Regions from separate parts of the Homo sapiens genome. Here regions 1, 2, 3, 4, 6 and 7 are each linked to region 5. Evidence: promoter capture Hi-C in 16 types of primary human blood cells and fetal thymus (Javierre and others, 2016). All regions are on one chromosome and are shown on one strand. Each heading gives the region's core, a stretch centred on a gene start or on the middle of the fragment in contact. The rest is flanking DNA. Distances are from core to core; before and after follow the strand shown.

Region 1 (2,700 bases), core at 176-2,675, 300 kb after region 5:
TCTTCCCCATCCTGTAACAACAACTCCTTCACCAGGTGGAAAAATCTGTGTGGCTTCAGGAAGACAAACTCGATGTACATCATTCTTAAATAAAACTTTTTTAGTGAGCAGTATAAGTGCGATATCATCATGATGTTCATCCTGGATGTAGTCTTCATGAATAATAATTTGTTGAACATCATGTTGCATATAGGGAAGAGTTACTTTCGTGCCAAAGCTGACAGTATAGTTTTTTGGATTTTTTGTCCTAAAGAAATAAAAATCATGTATTTTGTACTTATTTCAAGATAATAGAGATACATTCTGCATCTACTGTACTCTTTTCTTGGCATGAATATTTCCTTGCTCTATAGTCCATTAGCAATGATATAATCTGATTTTTAACTCATTTGAAAAAATCTTGAGTTCCTACACCATACACCATGTAAGGCAATGGGGGAATAGAATAAAAATAAATGGCCATGCCATCGAAAAGTTTAAATCTGGTGAAAGGTAGGTGTAAACACTAGCAGTTATAATAGGTTAAATAGTGGTGTATATAATTAGTGGGACTACAAAATAGGAAGACTTAAATCTGTATTCTTAAAGGAATGGAAGATTTCTTAGGGAAAATAGCATTTTGGATAAGACTATGGACTAAGTCGCATTTGCCTAAAAGGCAAGGAGATGGGGGCAGGCATGTGCAGAGAGGAAGGTACATATGAAATAGAATGTGTTTCAGCAACTACAAGTAGTTTAGGATGTCTGTATTATAAAGTGATGAGAGGTGAGTATCATGTGAAGAAAAAATGCACTGTCCAGAATGAATGACTCTTCCCATTTTTACTGAAAAGTTAGGAAAGTCTTAGATAGGCTTACCATATAATTTTTCTTCCAAACCGGGACACTTTTGAGAATGAAAGGGAGTGCTGCTAATATTTAAACAGGGATAACAGGTGCAAACTGGAACTTCCTCCAAAGCCTTTGGTTTCTGTAGCTTTGGGCAACATAATGAACTTAACACTTTAAAACAGTGAGCTGCAGTCACCAAGTGTCTTTCACTGATCAATGATGCCCCACAGTAGTGTTGCCCACTCATTTTAAGGCTTGCTTGTCATGGTCATTCTCCTTCCTGATCAATGGAACCTCCCCTGACTCTATCAAATGTAGGTGGCATCCTTGCTCGTCTCCCACAGCCTGTCAGAAAAAGTCAGTTTTGCTTCATTAAAAATAGGAAAATAACATTTGATTACAAAGCAGAGAGTGAGCTGAGTTGGCTTTGTGTGGTTATATCTGACAATATCTTGTGCTGATAGGTACAGTGTAATCTGTACAGGAATCACTAGCAGCCAGTGGATTGCTTGCATACCCAACATACTGTCTCCAAGACACCAGCACTTGGAGAATGTGTGAGCTGTGGAAGGCAGATAAAGTTATGGTTAAGTCCATGCTCTGCAACCAGACTCCCTGAGTTTGAATTCTGGCCTCGCCATTTACAAGCTGGATGAATTTGGGCAATCATTTCACTTCTTTGTGCTTCAGTTTCCCCATCTCAAAAATGGAATCATAATCATAACCATCTGTAGGATGGTTACAAATATTAAATGAATTACTGTATATGTAAAACACTTAGAACTGTTCCTAACCAATAGTAACAAATCATGATTGCTGTGCTTTAGATCACCTCATAAATTTAATTAAAAAGTATCTGAACTTACGGTTGTTGATAATTTTTGCAGCACTGACCTTACTGATTTCTGAAATAGAACAAAAAATTCATAGTAAATTTAAAACCTAGCACCTCTGACCTTGGGGCGATGGATTAAGACGATAGGTCAAGCAGGGCAGAAGAGTCCGTAAATAATTTGAAATTTCAAAATAAAGTGTTAATACAAAGGAGAGAACACTGGTTTATTGGAATTGTTCTTTTACTATACATGAATGTATGATATGGAGGTACCATCTTCATGGCTCCGCAGGAGAGACTTCTTTCTTATTTGATTAGAATTGTATTCTACATCATCTAAAGTGGAAAACTGTGAGTGTCTTTTCTTAGAAGAAGAGGAATTCCCTACAAGTGAACCTAATTCCTGTCAGTATACAAAAAGATAACTTTTAAAAAGTGACCTGTCTTATAATGGTGGGTCCACTGCTGTTTTTGAAAGTTATAGGAGATTTTTAAAAGATTAGCAAGACACATCAGTACTTATAAGGACTGTTTAAAGTATCAATATCTGCTTTTGAATGAAAAGCAGCCTGCCCTCACCCCTGAATCAAGTAAAAGGTTTGGTATTATTGTGATTTGATTGTGTTTTTAATAGTGAAGAATACAAATAATTGCTCTGATATAAAAGTGACATTCATTTGAAAATATTGAAGATCAGTTTTGTGTCTGATATTTGTGATATATGCTAGGGATAAAATGATGAAAGTAACACCACTCCCATCATGAGCTTACCCATAAGCCTCAGAGAATTCAGATCTGTAGTCAAGGATCCTGAGTGGTTCTTCAGCATCTGATGTAAGATACTTTCAATTCTTTTTCTTGTGTTTTCTTTCATTGATCTTGGACCCTTGAATACCAGCCATATATGTGCTGTCACTCTGTTGTTATCAGGACTGGAAACAACATAAAGTTTTCATATGTTGCTGAAAACAGCATTTTCTTCCTCTTTGTCTGATCTTTCATAGCTTGGTTTCTTCTGCTCTTTTGTGGGTTTG
Region 2 (2,700 bases), core at 167-2,666, 330 kb before region 5:
TATAAATCTCACTAGATAACTGTGGGAAGTCCATCCATGAATCATAGTATCAATGGTCTGCAGCTCAGAAAGCACAAAAGAACAAAATAAAAGTTTGAAAACTTACAGCTTTCTCTGCCAGATATTTTTTTGCCAAATATCTTAGACTCCTTTGTGTTGCTGTAACAGAATGCCACAGACTGGTAATTTATAATGAACAGAAATGTATTTCGCTCATGGTTCTGGAGTCTGGAAGTCAAAGAACATGGCCAGCATCTGATGAGGACCTTCATGCAGCATCATTCCATGGCAGAAGATAGAAGAGCAAGAGAGGATGATAGCATGTGAGAAAGTGCCAAACTTGATTTTATAAAAAACCCACTTCCAGGCCAGGTGCAATGGCTCACACATGTAATCCCAGCACTTTGGGAGGCCACAGCAGGAGAATCGCTTGAGCCCAAGAGTTTGAGACCAACCTGGGCAACATAGGGAGATACTGTCTATACAAAAAATGAAAAAGTTAGCTAGGAGTGGTGGCGCGTGCCTTGTAGTCCCAGCTACTTAGGAGGCTGATGTGTGAGGATTGTTTGAGCCTGAGAGGTCAAGGCTGCAGTGAGCTGTGATTGCACCAGTGTATTCCAGCCTGGGCAACAGAGCAAGACCCTGCCTCTGAAAAAAGAGAAAGAAACCCACTCCCACAGCATTAATTAATTCATTCATTCATGAGGGCAGAGGCCTCATGACTTAATCACCTTCTAAAAGTCCCATTTCTAAACACTGTTGCATTGGGGATTAAGTTTCTAACACATAAGTTTTGGAGGACACATTCAAAACATAGCACTAAATATTCATTGGGAACTCATGTACTTGGAATATCTACTGGCAAAAAAAAAAAAAAAAGAAAGAAAGAAAAAAGAAAAAAATTCCATATTCCGTGTTCCCATAATTGTGGTTTATATTTAGTGAAGCATCAAATGAGCATGAGATACAACTATTTTTTTTATTTACACAAAACTTGACCCTAAAATATTTAACCAACAGAAGTAGTACTAATAAAATTATTCTATGAAGTAATTTTTAATGAAGCTGAGTTTATTCAAGTCATGTCTTCTGCAAATAAAAATGGACACCAATAAACAAAAACAAAGATAGAAAGAATAACTGTGTTCTTGATATCTCCCCTAAAGTTCACAATCTCTACACCTGTTTCTTTCATCTTCTGGTGATGTTAATCTTCTGTTTATTTTGCGCTTTAAATCTAAGCACATGTGGATTACCCAGAGATTGCCCTCTGAAAGTCAGTCTACACCTGTTCTTTCTTACCTCACAAAAAGTAATGGAAAAAAAAGTGTGTGTGTGTGTGTGTGCGTCTGTGTGTGTGTGTGTCCTGTTGGTGGTAGTGTTGGTGGTTAAAAAGCAATTTGGGACTTCCTCTTTGAACAGTTGCCTTTTCCTCTCACAGAAGGAAGATTTCATTTTGTTTGAGACGAGAAACCAAACCACACACCAAAGAGAGGGGTATGATGGCTAAGAAGCCCCCAAAACCAGCCCCTCGCAGGATCTTCCAGGAAAGGTTAAAGATTACTGCTCTACCTTTGTACTTTGAAGGTTTTTTATTAATCAAGCGGTCAGGATACCGGGTGAGTCTATAGATGATAATGTTAAACCTAAGACTTCTGTTTTAATTTAATATTTATTTCATGGTGATGTGATGTGTTAAGACCTCCTTGTTTCTGTTGAAATTAAATCATCTTCTCTTCTTTGAGCTCAGAAAAATGATTCCAATTTTTCATAATTTAAATACAATGTCTGGCTTAAACCTGTATGTATACACATATATAATATGTATAATAACAGAGGTTGTAATATTAAGGCACTAATATAAAAAAGTCAATAAGCTAAATTTCCAAAGAATTTATTTAAATATCACAAAAGATTTTGGCTTGGGAGATAAAATGTTTCTTGTATTTTCTCCACAATTTATTGCTATGCTTCAATGATGACATGTACCATTAAGATAAAATGATATCATGATTAAAATTAAACCTGCTCCTGTTCTGAGTCATTTGAAGTTTATAATGATCAAATTATTAAAAATGGCTTTTGTAAAAATTGTTAAAATGACAAAGTTCATACTGTTTAACATTATATATAGTTATGTGTTCTAAAATACTATTCAAGATAGTGACTTTTAATTTTTGGGGTACTACTGTGGGTATTAAGTACACTAAGCTACATAAATACCTTTGCTCTAAGAAAATCCATGAAGCATTCTGTATTTTTAAATGTAATAATTAAAACTTATAGTTAGTTAAAATCATTACTTTTAAAACAGTAATTATGGATGACTTGAAATTAATTAGAGAAATAAGCCCAAAATTGCCTGTTATTAAATAAAAAAATCATTAAGTTAGGTCAAATTTTATGAAATTGTATACTGACTAAAACTAGAAAAATTTTAAGGTTTTCAGAAATTCCATCAGAAATGTTTAATGATGCTAAAATATATTTTCTGAGGATTTATGAATACTTGTGGAAAAATTATATATATGAAAAATCTATAATAGCATATTCACATTTCTTACATATATAATCAGATCATTTACTATTTGAGAGTAAAGACATGGTAATTTGTATTCTGTTATGGATGTTAAACATGCATAAATAATTACCTTTCAGTTATATTAGAATTTTTTAGATTGATCCTATATGCTTTTAATG
Region 3 (2,700 bases), core at 137-2,636, 500 kb after region 5:
TACAATGTCTCACTCTGTTGTCCAGGCTGGAATGCAGTGGCAGAATCACAGGTCACTGCAGCCTTGACCTCCTGGGCTAAAGTAATCCTCTACCCCAGCCTTCCAAGTAGCTGGGACCACAGGCGTGCACCACCACGCCTGGCTAATTTTTAAATTTTTTGTGGGTATCACTATGTTGCCCAGGCTGGTCTTGAACTCCTGGGCTCAAGCAATCCTCCCATCTTGGCTTCCCAAAGTATTGGGATTACAGGAGTGAGCCACTGTGCCTGGCCTGGATGGGTAACCTTTGAAAAGTTATGTAAAATCTGTGTGCCTCAATGAGGATAGTAACAGAAACTTCCCTGGAATTACTTGAAGTTTAAATGAGTTAATCTATGTAAACAACCTAGAACGGGCCGGGCACAGTGGCTCACGACTGTAATCCCAGCACTTTAGGAGGCCAAGGTGGGTGGATCTCCTGAGGTCAGGAGTTCCAGACCAGTCAGGCCAACATGGCGAAACCCCATCTCTACTAAAAATACAAAAACTAGCTGGGGGTGGTGGCACATGCCTGTAATCCCCACTCCTCGAGAGGCTAAGGCAGGAGAATAGTTTGAACACAGGAGGCAGAGGTTGCAGTGAGTCGAGACTGTGCCACTGCACTCTAGCCTGGGCAGCAGAGAGAGACTCCATCTCAAAAAAAAAAAAAAAAAAAAAAGAACCTAGAACAATGGCTGGCATAGAGGCATAGAATAAGCATTATATGTATTAGCTATGATTACAAAAGAGGAATCTATAAGGTATTCTGCAGACAAAGAGAAGGAAGTGGCTAATTTAGTCTGCAGAGTAGAGAAGAACCTCAGAGAGCTGCAATTTGCAAAGCAAGGAGGAGAGATGAATATTTGTTTTGTTTTGTTTTTTGAGACCAAGTTTCAGTCTTGTTGCCCAGGCTGGAATGGAATGGCATGATCCCGGCTCACTGCAACCTCTGCCTCCAGGATTCAAGCGATTCTCCTGCCTCAGCCTCCCAAGTAGCTGGAATTACAGGCACCCACCACCATGCCTGGCTAATTTTTGTGTTTTTAGTAGAGACGGGGTTTTACCATGTTGGCCAGGCTGGTCTCGAACTCCTGACCTCAGGTGATCCACCCGCCTCGGCCTCCCTAAGTGCTGGGATTACAGTCATGAACCACCGTGCCCGGCCGAGAGATGAATATTAAAACATATTTGAGGGACTTTAGAAATTGTCAGTCTTTAAAGTCTGTAAGAAGGATGGTCTGGATGACTCCTTTAGCATGAACTCATTATTTAGTAGATGACTCCATCCCAATTAGTATTTATGCCTGTGGAAATCTCATATGAAGAGCTAGATCTGATTAGCAGCTCTATTATATCTAGCTTAATGCTCACAATTTGTTCCACAAAGCCATTCTCTCTCTCTCTCTCGTCTTTCCCTCCTTCCATTTTGTTAGATCACATATTATAATAGTTATATGCTTTAAACCCTTATTTAGAACAATAAAGATGACTGACTTACATTTCAGACATTGTCGCTCCATGTCGCTAGTTTTAAAACCTGCCCAACTTAGTAATAAAAAGTAATGGCTCCTCAGATAAGAGTTTCATGATAGTTTCTTAGAAACGAGTCAATGACACTACTGTAATAGCAGGGGAAAAGATTTCTAAGTCACATCATATTTTCAAACTGACAATTTTAGCTACAAAAGTACAACTTCCAAGAGGTCTTTCCCAGGTAAACATGGAAGGGATTTACCAGTCCACAGAAAAGTGACTGCCTCTCCCTTGGATAAATGAGATTCTTTGCTTCCTGAAAATGAGAAACTGCTATTTCAATTTCAATGCCAAAGATCAAATTTTCTGACTACTGTGAATGAGGCTGCTCAGCATTTACAACACTAAAAACAAAGAAAAGAAAGCCGAAGAGGAACAATTTTTTTTTAGCATTTGCCCCAGGCCTTTGCAATCAAAGCATAACCCAGCTTATTTTTGGGGTGACTACACCCTCCATTCTCCAGGTAGCTGAATCTTCCTTGCATGTGTGAAAGCATCACTGACAAAGTTTCGTTGTCATGGAGTTTTTAGATAAGTATCTCTGAGTTTAAAATCCCAAATTATATGCATCCACCCACCCTTATACTATAATTAATATCTGTCTTGGGGCTTTTTAGAAATAACTACACACATCAACAGTTTCACAACTGCTTCTGTGAGTGGTGAGATTAGTAGGCAGATTTCTAGGGGAATTATGCAGGTGACCAGTCATTAATATGCACATTGTTAAAATGTTTGAACGTTGTCATGATGATGATACAGCGCCGATGAGTGGAGGAACACCAAGTTCTACGTCCTCATGCTGGTTTAGATAAAACGACACTGACACACGTGGAGTGGTTTTAAGGAGCGGAAAGTTTAATAGGCAAGAAAGAAAAGAGAAGGCAGAAGGAAGAGGCTCTCCTGTACAGAGACAGAGGGAGGGGGGCTCCAAAGCCGAGAGAGGGAACCCCATCTGGCAGGGATACCAGCCAGGTATATATACAGAGGCTGGAGGAGGCAGTGTCTGATTTGTATAGGGCTCAGGGGATTGGTTTGACAAAGCATGTCATTCATATAGCCCAGGAAAAAGCCTGCCCTCCCACCCTAGCCTTTTAATATGCCAATGCAGGGCACCATGATGTTCTACCCACGTGGGGATATGTGGGG
Region 4 (2,855 bases), core at 226-2,725, 470 kb after region 5:
CTTCCATGTCTTTATTTGTTCAGTTTTAGCTAGACTCCTGCTAAGTCACTTTAGTAAGAGTCCCTTGCTTTTGGTATCTGGTCACCTTCAAAATCTGATCAAATTCATTATTCTCTACCTTCCCCCAGATGATATCTGATCACCCTAACCTGCCTTTAGAAAGAATACTATCAAATCAGTTTAGCAAGAATCTCCTCTTACCCCTTGCTATGATTTGGATGTTTGTCCCCTCCAAAATCATGTTGAAATTTAATTGCCATTGTAACAGTATTAAGAAGTGAGACCCTTAAGAGGTGATTAGGCAATAAAGGCTCCACCCTCATAAGTGGGACTGATATTATAAAAAGGAGACTTCAACCCTCTGTTGGCCTTTTTGCCTTCCACCATGGAATGATGCTGCAAGAAGGCTCTTACCAGATGTCAGCACCTTGACATTGAACTTCTCAGCTTTCTGAACTATGAACCAATAAATTTCTGTTCATTATAAATGACCCAGTCTCTTGGGCCAGGCATGGTGGCTCACGCCTGTAATCCCAGCACTTTGGGAGGCCAAGGTGGGTGGATCACTTGAGATCAGGAGTTCAAGACCAGCCTTATCAACATGGAGAAACCCCGTCTCTACTAAAAATACAAAATTAGCCAAGCGTGGTGGTTCATGCCTGTAATCCCAGCTACTCAGGAGGCTGAGACAGGAGAATCGCTTGAACCCGGGAAGCGGAGATTTCAGTGAGCCGAGATTGCGCCATTGCACTCCAGCCTGGGCATACAGAGCAAGACTCCGTCTCAAAAAAAAATAAATAAATAAATAAATAAATAAATAAATTACCCAGTCTCAGGTATTCTGTTACAGCAGCACAAAATGGACAAAGACACCCCTAATGTTTCCTCTTAGTAATTTTCAATCCACTGACCCCCAACCCTGTTCATTTGCTATAAATCTCCCCTTGTTCATGCTGTATTCAGAATTGAGCCCAATTCCATACTGAGGTTTATTTTCCTACATTGCAATATTTACTAAATAAAATTTGTTTTTTCTGCTCTAGCTACTATTCAACTGTGATTTTCTTTAACAGTGTAATGCAGCAGAGTCATTTGTGTTGTGCCAAGTTCCTGCCTGTGAAATTTAGCATATGTTGTAGTTTTAAAATAACTAACATTTTACCAATACATTTACTTATAACTTCTTTTTGACATATATTATCTTATTTAACATTCTGAAACAGCTTGTGATTTAATTACAATAACACCAATTATATTTTTAATTGAAAAATAAATAAAAGGAATATTTAAATATCACTGGGTATTCTTAAATTTGGAAATGTATTAATCTTCAGATTTAAGACCAGGTACCTAAGCCTTTTCTTCCACAGTAGGATGTCAATGTTAAATTTTCATTTAGCTTTTACATGTACCACAGAATGCAGCCTTGAATCCTTTAATAGCAATTATATTGGTTTATTGAGTTTCATAACAGGAAATAGACTATCAAAATATAAGTACTTCCAAAAAAAGATAACATTTTACAAGGCCCTTTTTTGGAAAACATGGTTAATTATTCCTGAGATATTTATAGAATTCTGGAATTCTGAAGTTGTTCTGCTTACTTTTGAGTAATATCGGTAGCTGACATTTTCTGAGTACTGACTGTGCCCAATCTGCTCTGTGTGCTGCCTATATTTTACCTCACTTAATTCTTATCACAGTCTTATAAGGGATTTTTTTTTTTTTTTTGAGACAGAGTATGCCCTATGTGGCCCAGGCTGGAGTGCAGTGGTGCGATCTTGGCTCACTGCAACCTCTGTTTCCTGGGTTCAAGCGATTCTCCTTCCTCAGCCTCCCGAGTAGCTAGGACTATAGGCAAGCACCACCATGCCTGGCTAATTTTTGTATTTTTAGTAAAGATGGGTTTTTGCCATGTTGGCCAGGCTGGTCTCGAACTCCTGACCTCAAGTGATCTGCCCACCTCAGCCTCCCAAAGTGCTGGAATTACAGGCATGAGCCACAGCGCCTGACTTGTTATCTTTATTAGGAACAAAGTTTCTTCTGAGTAAACATTTAGTCTTTTTGTTGTTGTTGTTGTTGTTGTTGTTGAGACAGGGTCTCGCTCTGTTGTCTAGGCTGGAGTGCAGTGGCATGATATCGGCTCACTACAATCTCCTCCTCCTGGGTTCAAGCATTCTTCTGCCTCATCCTCCCAAGTAGCTGAGATTACAGGTGCGCGGCACCATGCCTGGCTAATTTTTTGTTGTTTTAGTAGAGATGGGGTTTCACTATGTTGGCCAGGCTGGTCTCAAACTCCTGGCCTTAAGTGATCCGCCTACCTCGGCCTCCCAAGGTGGTGGGATTACAGTTGTGAGCCATCACGCCGGCTTCTTGGTGGCATCTTGATACAGGGTGTGCTGGATATCTGTGGCCACCCTGATCAATTTTCCACCTTGCTCTATTCCTTAAGAATCTCATTCATAGGGACTACACAATAATCGTTTATCTTCTCTCAGTTTTGGTTGAGTTCAGGCATTTGAAGATAGGAAGAAAGTAAGGGTTTTGAACTATTTATTTTCATGGCTCCCTCTATGTAGGGTTAACATAGGGTAGCTCTGTCTCTCTATCTATGACCTCAATTCCTTTTCAACCCTATCTATACATCTATTCTATCTGGGCTCTAGTAACTCTGCCTTCCACTTGCCCATCCAGGCCCAGGGTAGTGCTATGGAATGAACTCCCATCCACCCCCAAATTCATATGTTGAAGCCCTATTCCCCAATATGACTATATTCGAAAATAAGACCTTAAGGAGGTTATTAAACTTAAATGAGTTCATAAGGGTGTGGTCCTGATCCAGTTGGGTTAATGTA
Region 5 (2,792 bases), core at 75-2,574:
AAATGCACTATATTACCCAAATAATATTACACTTATAGATGGTTTAAGAACAATAAAAAATATAATTCATAAACTCACTGCTTTAGTATAACAAACCTGATTAATGTTCTATGTTCTTTATTAGACTTTCTCCCATGTATAGCTTTACAAAGTAGTAGTTGATGAGTAAATACAATTTTGTGATTTGTTTTTTTCACATAAAATAAGAACAAACTCAGTATGTAAATTACTTCATAGGTTTTTAAGCTACTTTAATACATTTCTTGTATCTATTACATGAATATGAAATGATTTTATTTCTTCTATCATTGGAAGCTTAGACAGCTATCCACTTTTCACTCATATATATATATTCAAGTGCATATAACTGTATATATATTTTTATTACTTAAAATGGTTTGACTTTTGATTGAATTTTCCAATGTTCAGGAGATTTAAAATAAATTCAGCTGCACTTATTATAGCTAACACATTGTTCATGCTTTTGTTGATCCTTTCAGCATGACTTATCAGTATCATGTTTTCCTGTAGTCATAGAAAAATAATATGCATAATATATACACTTAAGTGCACACATAAACATACCAAGTTACATAATTATTTCATTGTTTTGAGATGTTAACGTGTGACTTGATTATCTCACAACTTTTTTCTTTCTTTATGTGAAAGTATAGGAAAATACTTATTCATTAACTAAAAAGAAAACCAGAGAGAGATTATTTTCTCTTAAATGTTAGCAAGAACTTTCTTGAAAATAATTCTACAACTATATAAAAAGTAGAAAAATACCGTCTTTACTTTCTAAAAGTGTACTTTAGGATTTATGGCATATTTATTTAATAGCTAGCAATAAAACTGTAATGGAAGTCAAAACACAGAATCCTCGAAAAGTTCCAAACAACACAAGAATTGTTTACTGATTGCAATTTTAAAATCCACACACCACTTTTCGAAATGTTGCACATGAGAAACAAAACCACTTCCTTATTTAAAGATATGTTGTCATAACGCTAAGCTAAGTATTTTTGTGGTTGTTTTATAAAAAATTCAGTTAAGCAACTATGTACCTTATGAAAATAATATCAAGCATATTATCTAAACAATATCTAAGAGTTTCGATGAAGTTTTCAGAGAAGTAACTAGAAGATTGCTAGACACAGTCAAAATTTGCTAAGCTTCTTTATATTTTTCCCATACTGTAAGATATAGTAAAACTTTTAAAGCTACAAAGACAAAAACAGGACTTACCTATACATTTTAATCCTTAATGAAGAGGTTCTTTTTTCTGCCTACTCAACTGCTTTGAGATTCCCACTCAAATGAATGACTCTCATGTATTACGTGTGATCTATAGTTGAGGACAAAGGAGGAAATCTCATGTTAATTAAAATCTAACTTGTTAAACAAGTTTGAGGGAATCAACAAACCAATAGTATGACTTGTGGAAGATAATTGGAAATAGACAGGGAATTTCACAAATTAGTAAGAAATTTATTTATTCTGGTAAATTGAGATTAAACACAATTACAATTGACAGGTATTTTGTGAAAGCCTGTGACTACTTCACAACTGTAGAGTCACTTTTAGTTCAAGAGGATTTGACACTTATTTTGCTCATGTTATCATATTGTTATACACCTCATTCCTCAACACAGCCAGCCAAGATCCATCAGAACATACTTTCCGTACATTAATGGGCACTACCTCTGAATTCCCTCATCTGTATGATTAAATGCAGTTTTTCTCATAATATATGAAACAGAGCATAATTGAGTAGATGCACAAAGTAAGACAAGCAAACAGAATAGTTGGAACTAAAATCCACTTTGTTTTTTTCCAAATATGATCATTTGAAAAAGCTATTCTAACACACTACTACTAGAAGAGGAGCAGACAGAAGAAGACAGTATGAGTGTGTAGGGTGTTAGGGTAAGGATGGAGAGCTCAAGAAAACAGGCAAGACTAGCAGGGAGGGGAAAAAGGGCATTCCTGTCTAACATTGCAAAGAAGCAGGATATAAATTTGGAAGGTTATACTGGGGTTACTTTGTGAGAACTAATGAATGCTAAAGAATTGGAACTTGTAATAGAATTATTACAATATTATTAGTAGTACAATATGAATTCTAGTCTTAGCTTTTTCACCAACTAATTGTGTAGCTTAAGGGAAAAAATTTACTTATTTCTCCATAAGTCACATGTATCTACTAAGAAAAGTGGAAGCTGAATCAGGAGGTCTTAGAGGACTCTCAATTATAAAATTCTATGACTTCATCTTGTAAAGCACTGACAACTAATGGTTAAATTTACTCCAATACTGCAACTTCAGATGTGTTCAGTTACTTGACTTTTTCTATATAATGTGCAAATCAAACAACAGAGACAGGAATAAGTGGTTACTTATATGTTTTTTCCCAAATATATTTGGGAAATATATTTTTTACATACAGTATCTCATGCCTGACATTCTGCCATTGATTTTTTAGCAATAAATAAATAACTATAATAAGATTTAAAAGTTTAAAAAATAAAGTTACCTAAACAAACCATTTTTAAATTTTACATGTTAACTTCAAGTACCTTTAAATATAGTTATATCATGGTATATAATTTTGTATTATGCTTTTTATACTTAATATTATTTCACAAATATATCGCTATTACTAATTTTTATTTTTAGTAGCTATATATTTATAACTTTGTATTTTTATATAATTTAAAACACAAATATGGTACCAAGATTCATTAATTATTAGCAGTTTTAATGGTTGCATTTTAAAAGGTAAATCACAT
Region 6 (2,820 bases), core at 113-2,612, 340 kb before region 5:
TGCAGATCTCTCTCAAGCATTCAATCAAATATTGATCAGAGAATGCGTTGTAAGAAAACCAGAGAAAGAACCACCCGAAGCCTTGAGGGGGAATATCCTCCCAGTTACAAAGGACCTAGAATAATCTACCAGCCAGAGTGGAAAACCTCCATAAGTAACGGGACACAGTAGAGAAGAATTTTGCCTCAGAAGGGAAGAAAATTAGCCACAGACTATATTTTGCTAGTCTTTATTGTTTCCACAGCTTCTCATATATCTAAAATTTGTTTCCATTTTTTAAAATAGCTGCTTTAGCAGGAGTGTTAGCCTTCTGTGACTTACTGCATTCTACCTAGAAGAGGAACCTCTAGCATAACCTTGATACCAAAGCCCTGTAAGAACATTTTTCAAAAAAAGACAATATTATTCATAAACATAGATGCAAACATCTTCAATATTAGGCAAACCTAATCAAAAAAAGTTAATACTTTATGACCAAGTCAAGTTTATCCCAGAAAACCTAAAGTTGCTTTAACTTTCAAAAACCATTGTAATTTATCAAGTTTCAGAAGGCCTCTCAATTCTGAAAGAAATGGTTTTGTCTGCATTGCTTGGAACCAAAAGGCTACATATGTTTAATATGTTGATTGCCTTTTACAGTTTTCTAGTAAGTGTTACTTCTAGCACTATATGATTTTTCTAATTAGTATTGTGCTTTTGAATAATTTGCCTTAGATTAGCTTCAAATACTTTATTTGAAAGTCTGCTACTTAGTATAGTTAAGTCAACCAATACTTTATTTCTGATCAAACTAACAGCAATTAAAATATATAATCAACAGAAGATTGATTTCCCCGTATAACAATGAAGTGCCTTCATTTATTAGAATATAACCAACCCTGCCAACCTGATTAGCAACTTTGATCACTGCCCATTTTCCTAAAAACCTAATTTGAGTATTATTTTAGGAGAAGTGAAAAATGTTTATTATAATTTGATAATTCTAATTCCCATAATCCCAATTCCAACAGAAAATATCAAATAAAACTTTTCACAAAATACCTCCAAATTTTATAGAAAGTCAATGGGAATATAGAATTCCCTTTCAAGAATAAGACTTACAAACAACTAAAATATACATGAGTATATTGTGTATACCTTCATTCATTAAAATATTAAACCTATACCAGCTCTTCTTTATCACTTACCTCTTTGCTTGGTGACTGAATACAAGTGTCTTTTATTTTGCGTGTTGAATTAGGCACTGATTTTGTAGAATTTGTACTAAAATCATTGGCAAGACCTAAAACAAAAGTATGAAATTTTCAAAAACAAGATATAGTGTAATATCTATTAGTCACAATTAAAAGTAGCTGTATATGACATGTGAAGAACCATCTGTTGACTCACTGACCACAATTAGCTTAAATCAAGTAGAGACCTCAATTTAATATTCAAATGTTCCTGAGAAGCATCAGGAAATGAGAAAAGCAAACAAAACACCTGAAGTATCAATATATGCCAGCTCTTCTTTCAGAGCTTGTATAGAAAACATTCTTTTCTATCATCTGCCCCTATTTCTTTGGCTGGCTTATTCTCTTATTCCAATACCTGCTGATGCTAATCAGCACTTGGAAAAGTTTTTGCTGTAATTTATGACTTCCTTAAACAGATATGTAAATCACCAAAGATTATCTCAAATTCTCCAGCGATTCCAAGAATTCTACACATCTATTTTCATTATATATTTTTTCTGGCTAGATGCAGTGGCTTATGCCTGTAATCCCAACACTTTGGGAGGCTGAAGAGGGCAGATCACTGGAGGGCAGGAGTTCGAGACCAGACTAGCCAACATGGTGAAACCTGGTCTCTACTAAAAAATACAAAAATTAGCCAGGCGTGGTGGCACACACCTGTAATCCCAGCTACTTGGAAGGCTGAGGCACAAGAATCACTTGAACCTGGGAGGCAAAGGTTGCAGTGAGTTGAGATAGCACCACTGTACTACAGCTTGGGTGACACCGCAGGACTATGTCTCAATAAATAAATAAATAATAAAATACTTTTTCTTGTGTATGATAATTATGTATGGACTTCCAGATTACAGTAATTTAATGTGAACTAAACGGGATGACAAATTATTGTCAAATTATTATTTTTTGTCAGTATTATCCTAAGTATACCAGAAGGTACACAAAGGATTGCATATGAACTCAAAATACCAGGGAAAATATTTTCCATATATTTAAACCCTAGAACATATTTGCTGCATTTGATATTAATTACCATGACAAATTCATATTTTCATCCATCTAACCCTTAAATTCCATCTTGAAATGAAGCCTTACTTTTTTCTTCAAAACAGTCTTGTAAGATTTCCAGAACATTCTGGCCTTGCTCTGTGTTAATGTCACGTGCCCTAATAAAGGAAAAATACAGCCTGTCATTTTCAGAAGATATTTCTTTATATTACCATCTCTTTGAAAATTCCACATCTCATTATAAAATATAAATTTACTTAATATGTAAAATATCTTTACTATTTGAAGACAAAACAAGTACTTGAGGGTCTATACATTCCCTCAAGTGAACTCTTTCCTTCCTAATAAGAATTAGTATATCATAATCTACCTTAACAATTAATATTTCTTAGTTGAACAGCCATGTCTAAAGCTGTTTTAGATTACTGCTGTATCTCAAAAACACAAATTTTTTTGAATGAATCCAATCAGTCCTGAAATGCTTCTTTAACAGACTTTACAGTCACATCTCCAAGTAACATATTCCTCCCTATAAATTCTCAAATGCATTTCTAATTCAGTATCATTGATTAATCTTAAC
Region 7 (2,700 bases), core at 189-2,688, 460 kb after region 5:
GGTGTGCCAAAGAGGAAGTATAAAGCCATGAAAACTGATGAGACAGAACAATTACATTTGTGGCTTCAGGAAAAAAACAAAGCCCACATGAATTACAGAAAGGTCTATTAATTAACCTGGGGGCTATAAACAGGTTAAATGGGATTCAAATTTTCCCCAAAGTGGGAAAGAAATCTGTGACTGAAGAGAATAGTTAATACAAACGATAAGGTTACATAGGAAATGGAAAAGATATCATTTTCCTTTACATTTGGAAACAGACACAATCTAAAGATATCTGAAAATTACTATGTCTGGAATAGCAAAATTGATCATTTTGGGTGGTACCAATGCTGATATGTACTTTCTATCATTTTTCTAAAATGAAAACAGGCTATATGGGTTTTTATTTTTGTTTACTTTTAAAAAATCTTATTTAAAATCAAGATATGTCAAACAAAAAAGCTTCTCTCATCATCTAGATTCATGTTTTTGCTAAGAAAAATTTCTTCAAGATCTGAATGGTGGCAAACACCATTTTCGGACTCTAAATTATAAAAAAAATAGTCTGATAGAAGTAAATCAATGTTTTACAGATGTTTAATAAGTACTGGGTCAAAGCTCACTAATCAGTAAAAAAGTAGATCCAACAGGTCTTCACAGAATCAAATACATTTGTAGAAGACAAAAAGAAAAAATTTCAAGACTATCACAATGAAACAGGCAAATAATGCTATACAAATCTTTTCATAAAATCACTAGATCTTATTCAGAAATATCATCCCCGAACCCTGAACATTTATATTATATACTTTAGACATGCTAAATTTAATACAGAATGAAATAATTTTGCAGAATGTTAATTTAAATAAATTTAAGTTTCAAACACACTTAAAGCCTGGTTTTCCTATAAAAAGGGGTATTACTGTTTTAAAGTTTTAACGAATTCAAATTCAGATACTGGTTGTAGTTTTAGAAAGCACCTACAACCTTTTTCAAGACAACAAATATTAACCAATGCTTACTACTTTTTAAAAATACTTTGTCACTTTTAAAATTTTATCACTTTTAAAATATATCATATATACAAATCATATAAAATAGAGCATGTTTAATCATTCATTACTTTGCAGATAAAGAAAGAGAAGCTCAAATGTTCCAGTTGACCAAATACACTTGTCTAGTAACAAATGGATATTAGTATGAAGTTCCGGCTTTAGAAATTGACAGTTAAATCAGATGGGGAACAATAAAAGCAACTTTAACCAAAGTATAAAGAACACAAATGCAAAATATTAAAAGGGCATATATACTAGAACATAAATTTCAAATTAGTGCACCAGAAAGCTCTATATCTTTAACATTACAACATTTAAAATCTACTGAAATATTCAAAATCAACTATAACACCCTCACTTAAATGATGTACACACTTTTATCCGTATTATAGTCCATAACATCAATAAACTGTGTGGTTTTACCACAAACTGGCAAACTAAAACCTACAGGATAAACATGGCCCATTGCCTATTTAGAATGGCCTGCAAGAATGGTTTTTACGTTTTTAAGGCGCTTATTAACAAGAAAAAAAAAAAAGCAAAGAATATGTCAGAGAACACTTACAGCCCACAAAGTCTATTTGGCCCTTTACAAAGAGTTTTGCCAACCCCTGATATAATACAAATGACCAAATTTTAAGTACTTTTCTCCATCACTGAAACTCCTTATATATACACTGGAATATAATATACAAGGGGAAAAGTCTTGGAGGTTAAGGAAATGCAGGTTATAGCTTGCATTTAGGTATCAGGAAATTCCCAGTCTTTCTGAGTTCAAGATTCTTCACCTCTGATAAGAGGCACTTAAAAAAGGTCAGTTTTGGGGAAAGGAAAAGCAGGACATTTGAATCTTCTATGAGTTTTTCAACCTGTAAGAAGACTCTCCTTCCTTATAACTATTGGACTTTAATAAAACCTGCCTGCCCCAACCCTCTTGCTAATGACTGGGCTATGTGATATATATAAAATCTGGTCCAGAACACAAAACAAAATTCCTTCTTCAACAAAACAGGTATGGTATATGCATACATGTTCTGATTATCTACTGCTGTATAAGATGATCACCCTAAAACTTGACTTAAAATGGTAACACCTTTCATTATGGCTCATGGTTCCAGGGCTCAACCGGGGTCTCCCATGTGGCTGCAGTCAAATGGGGCTGGGGCTGGGGCTGAAATCATCTGAAGGCTTGTTCATTGACAAGTCTCGTTGATGTCTAGGCTGGGAAGATTCAAAGCTGGAGCTTCTCCAACATTTCTGTGTGTGTGATTACTCATTACTATGGCAACCACCGAGTAGGCAGATCTTTTACATGGTAGTTTAGGACTCTCGTGTCCCAACAGAGACGGGAACAGGTAGAAATCCAGCAACACCATCACAGTATTTATTCATCACAAAAGCTTACCTAGCTTCAAACAGAGGGGACACATATTCCAATCACTGTTGACAGAAGTGTCATACATAATACATGACAGATGTTTCCAAAATTACTATAGTTTTATTTAAGGGTAAATATTTTAATTATATACTTGAGGTGCATTTTTAATAACAAAAATTCATTTAAATAGGTCAATGTTAAAGCTTATAGTATTAAGTTATAAAGCTAATGTAAACTGCTGCTTCTGGCCATATTCTTCACTGACTTGAAAAAGTACACTTTGCA

The links. The method cuts DNA at HindIII sites, captures the fragments that hold promoters and counts their contacts. A CHiCAGO score of 5 or more calls a contact.
Region 1: a contact is called between a fragment that was not itself captured here and the fragment with the promoter of TMPRSS11D in region 5, in 2 of 17 cell types (monocytes and M2 macrophages). The highest score is 5.4, in monocytes.
Region 2: a contact is called between the fragment with the promoter of STAP1 here and the fragment with the promoter of TMPRSS11D in region 5, in 8 of 17 cell types (naive CD8 T cells, erythroblasts, naive CD4 T cells and 5 more). The highest score is 8.6, in naive CD8 T cells.
Region 3: a fragment that was not itself captured here is called in contact with the fragment with the promoter of TMPRSS11D in region 5 in 1 of 17 cell types (monocytes); the score reaches 5.0 in monocytes.
Region 4: a fragment that was not itself captured here is called in contact with the fragment with the promoter of TMPRSS11D in region 5 in 1 of 17 cell types (neutrophils); the score reaches 6.5 in neutrophils.
Region 6: a contact is called between a fragment that was not itself captured here and the fragment with the promoter of TMPRSS11D in region 5, in 1 of 17 cell types (M2 macrophages). The highest score is 5.1, in M2 macrophages.
Region 7: a contact is called between a fragment that was not itself captured here and the fragment with the promoter of TMPRSS11D in region 5, in 4 of 17 cell types (M0 macrophages, monocytes, M2 macrophages and 1 more). The highest score is 7.4, in M0 macrophages.

Annotation. Positions count from the first base shown.
Region 1 is chr4:68,185,987-68,188,686 of GRCh38, forward strand. It overlaps the pseudogene FTLP10 and the pseudogene TMPRSS11BNL. Among named protein-coding and RNA genes, the nearest start is that of TMPRSS11F, 57 kb to the left of the region's middle. The HindIII fragment of the contact is 5,254 bases long and covers 1-2,700 here.
Region 2 is chr4:67,557,311-67,560,010 of GRCh38, forward strand. It overlaps STAP1 (signal transducing adaptor family member 1), which reads left to right and starts at 1,417. Exons shown (of 9, transcript NM_012108.4): 1 at 1,417-1,619. The coding sequence starts at 1,500. The HindIII fragment of the contact is 12,125 bases long and covers 1-2,700 here.
Region 3 is chr4:68,387,012-68,389,711 of GRCh38, forward strand. No RefSeq gene overlaps it. Among named protein-coding and RNA genes, the nearest start is that of YTHDC1, 38 kb to the left of the region's middle. RefSeq lists enhancers at 1,873-2,429, 2,430-2,700. The HindIII fragment of the contact is 8,883 bases long and covers 1-2,700 here.
Region 4 is chr4:68,356,252-68,359,106 of GRCh38, forward strand. No RefSeq gene overlaps it. Among named protein-coding and RNA genes, the nearest start is that of YTHDC1, 7.6 kb to the left of the region's middle. The HindIII fragment of the contact is 9,491 bases long and covers 1-2,855 here.
Region 5 is chr4:67,882,678-67,885,469 of GRCh38, forward strand. It overlaps TMPRSS11D (transmembrane serine protease 11D), which reads right to left and starts at 1,325. Exons shown (of 10, transcript NM_004262.3): 1 at 1,249-1,325. The coding sequence starts at 1,256. The HindIII fragment of the contact is 7,558 bases long and covers 1,174-2,792 here.
Region 6 is chr4:67,538,653-67,541,472 of GRCh38, forward strand. It overlaps CENPC (centromere protein C), which reads right to left. Exons shown (of 19, transcript NM_001812.4): 3 at 2,328-2,398; 4 at 1,188-1,282. Among named protein-coding and RNA genes, the nearest start is that of CENPC, 5.4 kb to the right of the region's middle. The HindIII fragment of the contact is 6,752 bases long and covers 1-2,820 here.
Region 7 is chr4:68,340,025-68,342,724 of GRCh38, forward strand. The region is part of intron 1 of YTHDC1 (YTH N6-methyladenosine RNA binding protein C1); the gene reads right to left. Among named protein-coding and RNA genes, the nearest start is that of YTHDC1, 8.7 kb to the right of the region's middle. The HindIII fragment of the contact is 1,993 bases long and covers 443-2,435 here.